5 separate regions of the Homo sapiens genome follow, and all the other regions are linked to region 4. Evidence: promoter capture Hi-C in human tissues and cell types (Jung and others, 2019). All regions are on one chromosome and are shown on one strand. Each heading gives the region's core, a stretch centred on a gene start or on the middle of the fragment in contact. The rest is flanking DNA. Distances are from core to core; before and after follow the strand shown.

The links. Contacts are between HindIII fragments. The study calls those that stand out against the background at their distance.
Region 1: a contact is called between a fragment that was not itself captured here and the fragment with the promoter of CSTB in region 4, in 1 of the 25 tissues and cell types used here (dorsolateral prefrontal cortex).
Region 2: a contact is called between a fragment that was not itself captured here and the fragment with the promoter of CSTB in region 4, in 3 of the 25 tissues and cell types used here (IMR-90 fibroblasts, dorsolateral prefrontal cortex and hippocampus).
Region 3: a contact is called between a fragment that was not itself captured here and the fragment with the promoter of CSTB in region 4, in 1 of the 25 tissues and cell types used here (dorsolateral prefrontal cortex).
Region 5: a contact is called between a fragment that was not itself captured here and the fragment with the promoter of CSTB in region 4, in 2 of the 25 tissues and cell types used here (IMR-90 fibroblasts and mesenchymal stem cells).

The regions. Positions count from the first base shown.
Region 1 is chr21:43,369,187-43,372,196 of GRCh38, forward strand. No RefSeq gene overlaps it. Among named protein-coding and RNA genes, the nearest start is that of LINC01679, 8.3 kb to the left of the region's middle. RefSeq lists enhancers at 1-222, 1-10, 223-780. The HindIII fragment of the contact is 5,950 bases long and covers 1-3,010 here.
Region 2 is chr21:44,098,384-44,101,152 of GRCh38, forward strand. It overlaps TRAPPC10 (trafficking protein particle complex subunit 10), which reads left to right. Exons shown (of 23, transcript NM_003274.5): 21 at 1-151. Among named protein-coding and RNA genes, the nearest start is that of PWP2, 7.6 kb to the right of the region's middle. The HindIII fragment of the contact is 4,324 bases long and covers 1-2,769 here.
Region 3 is chr21:44,074,989-44,077,837 of GRCh38, forward strand. It overlaps TRAPPC10 (trafficking protein particle complex subunit 10), which reads left to right. Exons shown (of 23, transcript NM_003274.5): 9 at 51-165; 10 at 1,564-1,640; 11 at 2,705-2,796. Among named protein-coding and RNA genes, the nearest start is that of PWP2, 31 kb to the right of the region's middle. The HindIII fragment of the contact is 7,831 bases long and covers 1-2,849 here.
Region 4 is chr21:43,774,858-43,777,557 of GRCh38, forward strand. It overlaps CSTB (cystatin B), which reads right to left and starts at 1,451. Exons shown (of 3, transcript NM_000100.4): 1 at 1,347-1,451. The coding sequence starts at 1,412. RefSeq lists a silencer at 1,030-2,029. The HindIII fragment of the contact is 5,981 bases long and covers 1-2,700 here.
Region 5 is chr21:44,058,681-44,061,384 of GRCh38, forward strand. It overlaps TRAPPC10 (trafficking protein particle complex subunit 10), which reads left to right. Exons shown (of 23, transcript NM_003274.5): 6 at 423-534. Among named protein-coding and RNA genes, the nearest start is that of PWP2, 47 kb to the right of the region's middle. The HindIII fragment of the contact is 7,991 bases long and covers 1-2,704 here.

The DNA of each region.
Region 1 (3,010 bases), core at 6-2,505, 410 kb before region 4:
GGCTCATCCCAAGGACAGTGGTGACCCGTTTCCATTTGTGCCACTTGATGTGGATGGAGGCAGCACAGCGAGACAAGGGCTAGACACACACGCATGTGAGGGACGGGATGAGTCATCGGCACACGTCCCTGTTACCGTCACTGTCAGCCCAGAGCTGGAGCCCTGTGAGGCAAGATGAGGGGCAGATGAGAGCTGAGAGCAGAAGGAAAGAACCGGACGCCCTGGCAGAAAACACAGACCTGGGCGGGAGGGCAGGGGGAGCGCAGGGGAGAGGCAGGGGCTGCAGGGTCGAGGCGTGGAGGAGGCTGTCAGGAAAGGCTGCTGTACTTTCTTGAATGCAGCCCCGCTGGCCAAGACACAGGAAAAGACAGGGTTTTATTTTAAAATGCTCTGTGTCAGCTGGAATGGGGGTCTTGGATGAAACCTGCGGGGACTGGACCTCACAGGGCAGCCAGCAGTCGGTGTCACAGCAGCTCCACAACTGTTGGGATACCAGGTTTTCTTGGTGGGCAAAGTTTACTTTTCGCTCCATCTCTCAGAGCACGAGCCCCTCTGACAGGGCAGACACCGATGATCTCAGCACAGCCTTGGCACTGCTTGGCACAGCTGCGTGGGGATCGTGCGTGAAACTGCGACTTGACTTTTTCCAAAGCCCCAGGATTCCCCTTGCGTGGGAGCCTGGTGCTGTGCCGGTGGTCACCAGCCTCACTGCCCGCCCACTCCCCACCCTGTGGCCTCTCAGTGTCCCCTCCAGCACACAGGACCCGGCTCAGTTGCTCAGAGAGAGATTTTTCCAGCAAGGCGTTTGCAGGCGGCCTGGCCGTGCTTCTGACCCACCGGCAGGTTTCTGAAGAGCCGCTGCAGGCTCTTTCTTGCAGGACATGAAGCCATAATTAGTTTTTCCTTCCTTGCCAAATTGGGAGCCTGCGGGTCTGGTAGCACTGAGGAAAATACAGCTCAGTGTATGGCTGAAGAGTGAGCCCAGGGCACACGTGTGTGCACGTGCGTGAGAAAGAGAGAGGAGACTGAGAGGCAGGGAGCCTCTTCTCTGTGGATCTCACCTGTCTGTCCACGCCGCACGCCCCCCGGCAGCACCACTTTCAACACCACTTTTCAGAGCTAAAAGAGTCATCTGTTTTGCTTCAGCAAAAGAAACGTCAGCCTAGAAGCTTTAAGCATATTCCCACAATGGGCTTTAATTATCAGAGAAGGTTGGCAATACGTTTGCATTTTAATTAAGATTAATGAATCATGCATGATTCATCAGGCCGTTCCCCTCCGTTGGCGGAGCAGTGATGAGAAGGCCACCATGTCGCTGAGGGGCCATCTGCAGGGACGGTGTGTCAGATCCGAGAACCCCACTCAGTGGTCCCTCCCCTGGGGCCCCAGCGGCAATCTGTCCTCATACACGCTGCAGCCACGCCTCAGCCATGTGACCTGGGGGTTTCTGCTTCTCCAGAAAGGGCGTACTGGGTGCAACTACACACACACTTACCCTGTAGGTGCCAATAAACGCAACGTTAAACAACAAGTCTATGGGTAAGTAAGTTTGAGAAATGCCAGTTTACATGAAGGTGAGCAGAGTTGTGTGTGTTTCCCTGCAGGACTCCTCAGGCCTTTAATACGCACATGTGCGCTGTGAACCCCCAGATTCATTTGCACACAGAAGCTATCCTTCCAGAAATCACCTTTGGGATTAGTACAGTATTCCCTGTAAACCAAAAATAGAATTCTAAGCCCCCCAACTGCCTGAATGGCTCCCCTACTCTTGGCCAAGGGGATCCCAAAGGAACCTGATAAACGAGTTCAGGCCAGGATGGGAAGAGGTAGGGTTGGACATGCCTCATAATACTCTCCTCCCTCTCTGGAGTTTAGGCACAGCTGACCAGCATTAACATGAAAACAGAGATCATAAGACTGGCAGAAAAGACTCTTTGTAGCAATAAGACACCAAATTCCACCCTGACTCTAGTATAGCATCACATGACTGATAGCAGGCCTGGAAAAAAATAAAAGTACTTTACCCCAAAATATATTTCTCTGACATATTTTGAAATGGCCCTGCAAAGCTGTCTCTTAAGGGGGAAATTTGCATTCTGTAGAGAATTCCCTGCCCTTAATAGGTCTTTTACAGAGAGTCTGACACATTTTAAGGTCCCATAAGAGACATTTGCCATCTAGTCTCTCTGAAGCCTGCTATCTGGAGGCTTCATCTACATAACAAAAACCTTGGCTTCCACGATCCCCTTGTCTTAACTCAAGCATCTCTTTCTGCTGACCTCAAACTTTTTAGGCAAAGCTCAGCTCTTTCAACCAATTGCCAATCAGGAAATCTTTGAATCCACCTATAACCTGGAAGCCTCTCACTTTCTGGGTCACACCAATGTATACCTTACATGTATTGATTGATATCTTTGCCTGCAACTTCTGTACCCTAAAATGTATGAAAGCAAAGCTGCACCCCAACCACCTTGGACACATGTTCTCAGGACCTCTTGAGACTGTGTCACAGGCCATGGCCCTTAACCATAGCAAAATAAGCCTCTACATTGATTGAGACCTGTCTCTGATATTTTTTGGGTTACACCTCCAAACCAGGAATTGGTGATCCAGGAAAACACTCCATTGTGGGGTGATTTGAGTGGGTGACAGAAGCCCAGGCCAGCCCTCCAGGAATGGATGCACACTGGCACCAGGGATGCTTGCATAGAGATGGGGTTGGGGGTGTCCTTCTGAACACTCCCACAACAACCGGGCGCCAGCTTGCATCTTTGCTTGACGTGGCCGTCGCCCGGCTGGCCTGTGAGTGCTGCATGGGCCACGCCTGCATGTGGCTTGCTCACCGTGGGATCCCCAACACTTCTGGAGGTGCCTGGACCACAGTGGGTGTCCCCAGACAGCCGCAGAACACACAAGGGAATGTGCATTCAACCCTCATCTCCTAAGGAGGCTGTGGCCCACCCTGCTTGGGATGGCAATGGAGGGGCCAAGTGTATGAATAACCCCCCAA
Region 2 (2,769 bases), core at 249-2,748, 320 kb after region 4:
TTTCCCCCTTCGGGAATGGAGTATTGCAGAACAGGCTCCCTCTGCTCCCTGGAGGTTTTGATCACGAGGCTCTCAGACCTCTTGGAGGTGGATAAAGATGAAGCACTGACTGAATCTGATGAGCATTTTTCGACAAAGCTTATGTATGAAGGTAGGTGGTCTCGAACCCATGGGCTCAAGCAGTCCTCCCGCCTTGGCCTCCCAGAGTGTTGGGATTACAGGTGTGAGGCACTGCACTCAGCCTATCTTGCATTTTGAATGGCTCTTTTACCCAGGCATCATAGCGTTACACCCTGTGCCATTAGTCATGTGGGAAACATGGTTTCCTGAGTTGTGCAGATCTTCCAAATGTGGGCACCTTTCGTTTGACAATATTTTTTTAAAATCTGCATTTGTGATCTCTCAGGGAGGGCTTGGAGCATCAGAACTCTTTCAAGCTCACAGTGGCAAGTGTAAGTTTTCCAAAATTCTGATTTTTGCTTAAAGTCTCAGATGGCATCATTGGCAGCAAATAGTCGTGTTGTTTTCTTTGAAGTGACAGGCTTACATCATTCATTTTTAATCAGACGTCTACCAAATACCCAACACTGAATAACTAGCTTCCCCAGCGCTCTTGCAAGTGAAAAGGGCGTTCTGTGAAAACAGCGGCTATTTCAGCTCGCAGCACCGAGCGCTCCCCGTGTGCTTTCCCTGAGCCAGCTGTCATTCTGCAGCAGAGACCCAGAGAATGTCAAGAACACAAGCACTCAAGAATGGAAATAACTCAAACGTCCTTCAGCTCGAGAGCGGTTAAACTGGCACATCTGATTCCTCCTCAGCAGTGAAACAGAAGGGACTGTTGACACACGCAGTGCTGTGGTTGGATCTCAAGGGCATTATACTAAGAGAAAAACGCCAGTCCTATAAGGAGGTGTACTGTGTGATTCCATTTCTAAATGACATCCTCAAAATGCCAGCCTCAGAAGGAGAGCGGGTCAGTGTTCCACGGAGCAGTGGGAGGCAGCAGGAGGCCGTCCTCTGTGGTAATGGAGAGTTCTGGGCCAGGGCCGCTGTGGTTGTTACACGAATCTACACATGTGACAAATGCCATAGAATTAGACCCAAAGAATGCCTGCGAAAGCTGCTGAAATCCAGTGGGGTCTGCAGCCTGGTTCACTCTGTAGTGAAATCCAGTGGGGTCTGCAGCCTGGTTCTATCTGTATTGAAATCCAGTGGGGTCTGCAGCCTGGTCCACTCTGTAGTGAAATCCAGTGTGGTCTGCAGCCTGGTTCTATCTGTATTGAAATCCAGTGGGGTCTGCAGCCTGGTCCACTCTGTAGTGAAATCCAGTGGGGTCTGCAGCCTGGTTCTAGCTGTATTGAAATCCAGTGGGGTCTGCAGCCTGGTCCACTCTGTAGTGAAATCCAGTGGGGTCTGCAGCCTGGTTCTATCTGTATTGAAATCCAGTGGGGTCTGCAGCCTGGTTCACTCTGTAGTGAAATCCAGTGGGGTCTGCAGCCTGGGTCACTGTATGGTACCAGTGTCAGCTTCCTGTGTTACACGAGATGGCACAGTTGGGTGAAGCTGGTGATGAAGGTATGTGACCCCTCTACTACTTTTACAACTTCTTGTGAGTCTATAAACATTTCACAATTAAAAAAAAGTCTACTCAGGAGCTGAATTTAATAAAATGAGCACTTTTGACTGCTTTGTGAAGCGTGGCATTTTTTTTTTTGTTTTTTTGCTGTGAGTTCATGGTAGTAAAGAACATGAGTGACATGACTGCGCAGTCTGGCCCGAGTTCATGCCATTGTGGTTGCCCCAGCAGCGCGAGGTCAGCAGCGTAGAAAGGCAGCAGTGTGAAAGCTATGAGCTTGCGGGTGCCCTGAGAGCCACACTCTGAGAACTGTCACTCCTTTGCCTTCCTCCTGACACTCCTAGGGCCTCTGCATGTCCTGTAGTAGCTCCTGTCCTCAAAGGTCCCCCATCCCCAACTACAGGATGTCCACCTCCCTGAGCCCTTCTCTGCTGCTCGTGGCCTTCTGGTCACTCACTCCCCCTGGGCGGTTGCTCGGTATCCTCATGATGGGAAGCTGTGACCTCTTTACCAGGTCTACTGCTACTGGATGGCAAGGATCCTGTCTTGCTTACTTTCATATCTCCAGGGCTAGTCCCAGTGAATGATCACTTAAGTGTTTGAATTGCATTGAATTACATGATGGTTGTGTTTTAATAATTAATGTTAATAATAACACCTGCCATATATTAAGACACTACCATGTCCCAGGAGTGGTACTAAGTGCTTTACATACAAGGGGTCTTCAAAAAAATCATGGAAGATACGTTATGAAAAAACTATGCATGGATTTCAACACTTTTTGCACCAAAATAAGCTCCTACTCACTGAGCAGGATCTAGTTTGAGGCACTAAGAAGGATAAGACATCAGTTTTAAAAGAGCCCCTATCAGAGCAACATGAATTCTGCTAAAATTAAATCAAGAACCAACATTGGCCGGGTGCAGTGGCTCACGCCTGTAATCCCAGCACTTTGGGGGGCTGAGGCAGGCGGATCACCTGAGGTCAGGAGTTCAAGATCAGCCTGGCTAATATGGCGAAACCCCATCTCTACTAAGAATACAAAAATTAGCTGGGCGTGGTGGCAGGCGCCTATAAGCCCAGCTACTTGGGAGGCTGAGGCAGGAGAATTGCCTGAACCCAGGAGGCGGAGGTTGCAGTGAGCCAAAATTGCGCCACTGCACTCCAGCCTGGGCAACGAGCAAAACTCCGCC
Region 3 (2,849 bases), core at 135-2,634, 300 kb after region 4:
CTGCTGACTCTTACGGCAAATTAATTGAAATTGTGGATTTATCTTAACAGTTAAAGTCCTTGGGCTATCTATGTGGACTTGTGTCAGAGAAAGGACCTAACTCAGAAGATCTCAACAGGACAGTTGACCTTTTGGCAGGTTTGGGAGCTGAGCGACCAGAAACAGGTACTTTTTTGTATATACCTGTGTGAGTGGTGAGGTGGACAGTAATGAAAATGTCCTTTGCAAGTTGGCACATTTAACCGAAGTTCTAAGAGTAATCATATTACTCACCATTTGGAAAATTATACCCATTGTTAGCTGACTGGATTAAAGCACATGATAGTTTACCTTTTAACAGCATAATGCAATATTAGAAATAGTTGAAGAAATTGGAAGGAGTTTCAGAAATGTAGCTGAGTTTCTCCTGGGCTTAAGGGACTTTATAGCTCATGTTCAAATGCACCACTGTCTCTCTGAATTACAGATGATCTGTTTTTCTAACAATACGACCTGACGATTTTTTTTTTTTTTAAGAGACAGGGTCTCACTCTGTTGCCCAGACTGGAGTGTAGTGGCACAATCTTGGCTCACTGCAGCCTCGACCTCCTGGGCTCAAGGGATCCTCTTGCCTCACCCTCCCAGGTAGCTGGGACTACAGGTGTGTGCTACCATACTTGGCTAATTTTTTAATTTTTTGTAGAGATGGAGTCTCGCTGTATTGCCCAGGCTGGTCTCAAACTCCTGGCCTAAAGTGATCCTCCTGCCCTGGCCTCCCAGCAAATTTTTTAAAATAAATTGGCTGGGCACGGTGGCTCCCACCTGTAATCCCAGCACTTTGGGAGGCCGAGGTGGGCGGATCACCTGAGGTCAGGAATTCGAGACCAGCCTGACCAACATGGAGAAACCCCATCTCTACTAAAAATACAAAATTAGCCGGGTGTGGTGGTGCATGCCTGTAATCCCAGCTATTCGGGAGGCTGAGGCAGGAGAATCGCTTGAACCTGGGAGGTGGAGGTTGTGGTGAACAAAGATTGCTCCATTGCACTCCAGCCTGGGCAACAAGAGCAAAACTCTGTCAAAAAAAAAAAAAAATTCTCCTGGATAATAAGGCTCTTTGAAAGGAGGATTACTCATTGTTTTACGTAGGAATATATGATGAGTATTATTTAGCAAGACTGTTGCTAAAGAATATCTGATGAGCTGAAAACATTCTTAGTAAATTGAATAAATGTTTAAGGGAAAAAATACGTAGTATTTATATTTCATTGTTTCAACTTGAGACCATTTCAGATCACTTCGGAAGTAATTTAATTCATCGGAGTATTTGTAATATATGTTTCTAAAAAAGTTTAGTTCTAAAGATCAGAGAAAAAGCATGACACAAAGCGTTTTGACTATTTTATGAATATGTGAATTGAAAGAGAATGTACATAATCATGTAGTTTCCGTTGGCATTGGCCGGTTTGTAATTTCACAAGAGTCAGATGAGGTCATCTACCTGCAGTATGTGAAGGTGAATGTAAAGTCATGTGACTGGACATGATGAAGATGAAGAGGGACTCTCGTTTCTTTCTGTTTAAGCCAACACAGCTCAGAGTCCTTATAAGAAACTGAAAGAAGCATTATCGTCAGTGGAAGCTTTTGAAAAACACTACTTAGTAAGTATTAACAAGTGTTCAATGTCTGTTCTGTGAATACCTGTCTCTAGAAGGCTTTGCTACATGGCCTGTTGAGTTGGGAAGGAACTGGTGTGGGGGGCCCCTTCTTGTTGGTTTTTTTTAGTTTCTTTGGTACCTGGGGAGTTGTGGACAAAACATGGAGTAGTTCATCAAATGTGTATTAGTGCCCATGGTACCATGCTAGGCATGGAATCATCTTTGAATATTTACCGTTTTGTTCAAATTGGGTTTGCTCACACAGAAATTATAAGAGAGGCTAGTGAATACTTTTCTTTGTAAAAAGGAGTAATTTGGACTTGGGCAGAGCTATTGTATTTGATTTTGAAAGACTTAAATTAGCAAAACTTTAAAAAACGGCGTAGGCAGAAGTGTGGTGGGTCAGCGTCATTCCCGGGTCATGGGCAACTTGAGCGTTTGGTCTGCCCGTAATGGCTGTACCTCTTATACACACAAGTATGAAAAATACCCAGCATGTCACCCACGTGCAGAAAGTCCTTGGAAAAGTTAGATGTTTTGGATGAGTTTGTGGGTTTCTTTTATTATTATGCTTCATAATTTATACACAGGTTACCAATTTTGCTTATATATTACAGAAAAATTCACAAAAATAGATGCAAAGGAAAAAATAATGTTACATTATTAGCAATGTCTTCTGCGGGCTGGGCATGGTGGCTCACGCCTGTAATTCAGCACTTTGGGAGGCTGAGGCAGGTGGATCACTTGAGGTCAGGAGTTTGAGACCAGCCTAGCCAACATGGTGAAATCCTGTCTCTGCTAAAGATACAAAAAATTAGCCGGGCCTGGTGGCGCCTGTAGTCCCAGCTACTTGGGAAGCTGAGGCACAAGAATCACTTCAACCTATGAGGCGGAGGTTGCAGTGAGCTGAGATCTCACCGCTGTGCTCCAGCCTGGGCGATGGAGCAAGACTCTGTCTCAAAACAAAAACCCAACAATGTCTTTTGTGTGAGCTTTAGGTGAATAAATGTAGTATTTGTCCATCATTAAAAGTTCAAGTACATAATTGTGTTTTTACTTCCCCACAGGATTTGTCCCATGCCACCATTGAAATGTATACAAGCATTGGGAGGATTCGATCTGCTAAGTTTGTTGGAAAAGATCTGGCAGAGTTTTACATGTAATTGATTTTGTACTTTTCTTTGAATTCTAAACATACAAATAACACGAGAA
Region 4 (2,700 bases), core at 201-2,700:
ACTGGCTCTTCACACAATTGTCTCTTACAACTGAAGGGACATTTAAACTGTCAGCCTAATAATAAAGTAGAAAAAAACAGTTCCAGCTGGGTACGGTGGCTCAAGGATGTAATCCCAGAACTTTGGGAGGCTGAGGTGGGCGGATCACTTGAGGTCAGGAGTTTGAGACCAGCCTAGCCAAATGGCAAAACCCCGTTTCTACTAAAAATACAAAAATTAGCTGGGCGTGGTGGCGAGCACCTGCAATCCCAGCTACTCGGGAGGCTAAGGCAGGAGAATCCCTTGAACCTGGGAAGCGGAGGTTGCAGTGGGCCGAGATTGTGCCACTGCACTCCACCCTGGGCAAGAGTGAGACTGAGTCTCAAAAACAAAAAAAAAAAACACAGGCCTCAGCATCGCCTGGACCTGTTCTTGCTTGGGGCATCCCGTCGGTCACCAACCATGACAGCGAGGCGGGCCTGGCCTGTGCTCCACCGGAGGGGGCTTCTTGCACAGATGACCTGCTCATTTCAGCCCCTCCAGAATCTTCTGGCAGGCGCAGAGCAACAGGACGTCCATTTTACAGACGAGGAAACCGAGACACAGGGAAGGTTGCCATCTGCAACCCAGCCCGGTTTTTATCTTGTTTTTCTGTGTTTTAACTTTTTATTTAGACTTACAGTTTGAAACAGTGCTAGAATCGGAAGCATGTAAAGAAACCTGTGGACCTTTTATGCAGATACACTTAAGTTTTTAACCCATGTGCCTTATCACTGGGGACCTCTTGCACTCTCTCTCATGATTTTTTTCCCGAACTAGATGAGGATATTGACAAAGATTCTTGCTTGGCCAAACTGTAGTCGGGCTCCTGAAGCGCCTAGGCCACCTGCGCACTTCCTTGTAAAATCCACTTTTAGCAAGAAGCCTGGCTAAGTCAGTTTAGCCAGACCCTTCCCACCCGCTTGCTATCGGATCACCGTGGAGATCGGAGCCGGCTGCTCACCTGCGCCATCGCCGGCGACGCCCGATCACCCTGCCTGCCTGAAACCAGAAGCGCCTCATCCCTGGGGTTTCCTCTCAGAGACTGTCCATGCAGGGACCGCACCCTGCTCCGGGCTATCAATTCCCACTCGCCCTTGCTGTATTCAGCGGAGCCCAATGTCTCCCCAGCGGCGCCCCAGGCGCGGCCCCCCGCTGCTCACTCGCGCGCAGCGCCCGAGCGGAGGGAGGCCTCTCACGGCCACAGCCCGGGCCAGCCCAGGGGTGCGCAGCGGGGCCAAAGCGGCTTCTTTCGCTCCAGGAGCCGCGGCCGCGCCCTGAGGCTAAGGCAGGACTCCGGGCCGGCCCCGTCCCCGCGGCCCACCCACCTGGTCGGCGATGTGCTGGGTCTCGGCGGTGGCCGGCTGCGTGGCGGAGGGCGCCCCGCACATCATCTTGGCGGCGACGGAGGGAATCTGGCGAGGGGACTCGGCGAGGGGACGCGGCGGCTCCTCAGCCCAAGTAGGCGCTGGGGTCACGTGACGCGCGGGCGGAACCAAGGGGCGGGGAGGAGGCACTTTGGCTTCGGAGTCCCCTGCGGGGTCGCGGTGGCCCCGCAAGAAGGGACGCGCGGGGCGGGGCGCGGGGCGGGGCGCGGGGCGGGGAACCTGGCCACCACTCGCCGCAGGCTGGGTCTCCGCGCCCAGCGCTGGTGTCGGGAGGGAGCGCCCCCCTCCCGGGGCTGGTATCGTCTTTCCGGGCGCCGAGTCACACGGACCGGGGCGGGGGCGCGGCCGGGTGTCGCCGGTGGGTTGGGCGCGCAGGGTGGGACGATAGGGAAGGGGCAGTCGGAGTAGGCGCAATCCTGCAGGGTGGCGGGGTCCGGGCCGCGCACGAGGGAGGGCGGGGCGCAGCGCTGCAGGGGTCAGGGGTCAGGGGTCCCGGCCCCGCGGGAGCAGGTGTGCGGGCTGCAGTGGACATCACCGCTTGTGACCGAGAACACTGAAGGCTGAAGGGGGTGGACAGAGGGGCCCAGGGAGGGGGAGACGGCGCCCACGCGCTCCAGGCTGGGTGGGGGCAGGGGGTAGATCAGAGGGATGAGAAGAAGGCAGGGTTCTCTGGTGGAATTTGCGTTTTAGGATTTCTTTTCTTTCTTTCCTTTTCTTTTCTTTTTTTTTTTTTTTTTTTTTTTTTGAGACGGAGTCTCGCTCTGTCTCCCAGGCTGGAGTGCAGTGGCGCGATCTCGGCTTACTGCAGGCTCCGCCTCCCGGGTTCACGCCATTCTCCTGCCTCAGCCTCCCGAGTAGCTGGGACTACAGGCGCCCGCCACCACACCTGGCTAATTTTTGTATTTTTAGTAGAGACGGGGTTTCACTGTGTTAGCCAGGATGGTCTCGATCTCCTGACCTTGTGATCCACCCGCCTTGGCCTCCCAAAGTGCTGGGATTACAGGTGTGAGCCACTGCGCCCGGCCTTTTTTTTTTTTTTTTTGAGACGGAGTCTGGATCTGTCGCCTAGGCTGGAGTGCAGTGGCGCAATCTCGGCTCACTGCAAGCTCCGCCTCCGGGGTTCACACCATTCTCCTGCCTCGGCCTCCCGAGTAGCTGGGACTACAGGCGCGCGCCTTCATGCGCAGCTAATTTTTGTGTTTTTAGTAGAGACGGGGTTTCACCATATTGGCCAGGCTGGTCTCGAACTCCTGACCTCGTGATCCACCTGCCTCGGGCTCCCAAAGTGCTGGAA
Region 5 (2,704 bases), core at 149-2,648, 280 kb after region 4:
AGAGGGAATAGTGAGTGTAGACAGGGAAGTCCAAGGGCGGAGCCCTGCGGCCTCCAGCAGAGAGCCTCGGGGAGCGAGAGGAACCAGCCGTCTGACCAGAGGGAGCCACAGTGAGGGGCGAGGGGAGCAGGTGGCCAGGTCCTGGACAGCAGGAAACATCCCAAGGACAGGGGGGTGACCAGTTATATCTGGTGCTGCCGATAGGTCGGGGAGGGTTCAGAAATTACCTTAGCTTTTCCTAGCTTCTTGTGCATGCGTGAATGTTGACATATGCGGTCGTCACATTGGTTGTTACTTAGCGGAGCGTAGACATTATTCATAGTGCTGCGTGCCTTTCTCTGTCGTTTAATGGCTACATACTGTTTCTTCTATACATTGATTTATGTTTTTGTTTTTTTAAAAAACGTATCTTGGGCGAATAGGAGGAGCTTGCCTTTGTTTTCGAGATGCTGCAGCAGTTCGAGGACGCCCTGGTGCAGTACGACGAACTGGACGCCCTCTTCTCTCAGTATGTGGTCAACTTCGGGGCCGGGGGTGAGTAGTGGCACTTCAGTAACGCATGCTTTTCTTAGTGTGGCTTTCTCCAACTTCAGATAGGCTTGAAGCAGCCATTTATTTACCTCAGGAGTACGCATGTTTTGTTGTTGTCTTTATACACATTATATCGGATATATTCTCGTGATTCCTAGAGGAAATGAAATGAGAATTAAGAATTAGTCATTTTCACTTTTAGAAGAATCTTAAGTAACAAAAATAATAATAATTTAAAAAAACTGTTTTCCAGGTATAAAATGTCCTTTCCACAACTCAGTGGCCTGCTGGTGATGCTTCGATTCTGTCCCTCGTTAGAATCAGAGTGGACGTCCCTTTGCCTTCCATCCAGGGGTTATCTTTGGAATGCTCGAGTGCTCATTGCTGTGAACTTATAAAATGCCCTTGGGTGTTCATCTTTCTTTTGCACTTTTAAATAATATCTTAAGCTCCTTTACAATTAAAGAATTAGCACAGTGAAACCATACACAGAGAGAAACATTGGTTATTGTCCTCAGTGTTTTTCGCTGATACTTATTTTGATGAAAGTGATACCACGTTATATAGCTGTTTCTCTGTCGCTCCTTTTTGTTACTCACAGCCCATCCTGGGCATCTCTCCAGGTTAGCAGGTGGGGTTTGGAGTTGTTTTTGTTACAATTGGTATTCCTGGCTTGATTCCATTACCTGGTGTTGGACATTGGGTTCTTTTATGCTTCTTGCCACCACAAGCAGTGCTGTAGTGGGCATCTCTGCCAGGTGTTCTTTTTGAGAACCCTTGTCACCATGTGTGAAGGAAGGAGTAATTTTGAGGAGCCCTGGTGTCAGCAGGAGAACCTGGAGGGAGATGAAGTGTGGGGACGGTCAGTTCTAGCTGTGAGCACTGTCCTCACTCTGGAACTCATCAGTGGCGCCGATGGATACTGGCTCATAGTGCTTCTGAAGATCAGGTCTGGATATCTCACTCTCCTGAGATGCCAGTATAGACACAGAACCAAAGCAAAGTGTTTACTAAGTAAAAAAATAAAATAAAAAAACACTTCTATTTCTTATATTTTATGTGTCTTTTTTTTTTTTTTTTTTGAAATGGAGTCTTGCACTGTTGCCCAGGCTGGAGTGCAGTGGCACAATCTCGGCTCACTGCAAGCTTTGCCTCCCGGGTTCATGCCATTCATGCCATTCTCCTGCCTCAGCAGTGGGACTGGGACTACAGGCGCCTGCCACCACGCCTGGCTAATGTTTTGTATTTTTAGTAGAGACGGGTTTTCACCATGTTAGCCAGGATGGTCTCGATCTCCTGACCTCGTGATCCGCCTCAGCCTCCCAAAGTGCTGGGATTGCAGGTGTGAGCCACCATGCCCGGCCTTATGTGTCCATATTATACAAACATATCTATTTATTTATTTTTGAGACAGTGTCTCACTCTGTCCCCCAGGCTGGAGGGCAGTGGTGTGATCTTGGCCCACTGCAACCTCTGCCTCCAGGGTTCAAGCGATTTTCGTGCCTAAGCCTCCTGAGTAGCTGGGATTACAGGTGCATGCCACCATACCTGGCTAATTTCTATATTTTTAGTAGAAACGGGGTTTCACCATGTTGGCCAGGCTGGTCTCGAACTCCTGGCCCCAAGTGATCCTCTTGCCTCGGCTTCCCAAAGTGCTGGGATTATAGTTGTGAGCCACCATGCCCAGCCTATACATACATACATACACACACACACACACACACACACACACACACTTTTTTTTTGAGACGGAGTCTTGCTTTGTTGCCAGGCTGGAGTGCAGTGGTGTGATCTTGGCTCACTGCAACCTTCTCCTCCTGATTTCAAGCGATTCTCTTGCCTCAGCCTCCCAAATAGCTGGGACTACAGGTGCGCACCACCACGCCCAGCTAATTTATTTATTTATTTTAATTTTAATTTAATTTAATTTTATTTTATTTTTTGAGACGGAGTCTTGCTCTGTAGCCCAGGCTGGAGTGCAGTGGCGCCATCTCGGCTCACTGCAACCTCCGCCTCCCGGGTTCACGCCATTCTCCTGCCTCAGCCTCCTGAGTAGCTGCGACTACAGGTGCCCGCCACCAAGCCCGGCTAATTTTTTTTTGTATTTTTAGTAGAGACGGGGTTTCACCGTGTTAGCCAGGATGGTCTCGATCTCCTCGTGATCTGCCCACCT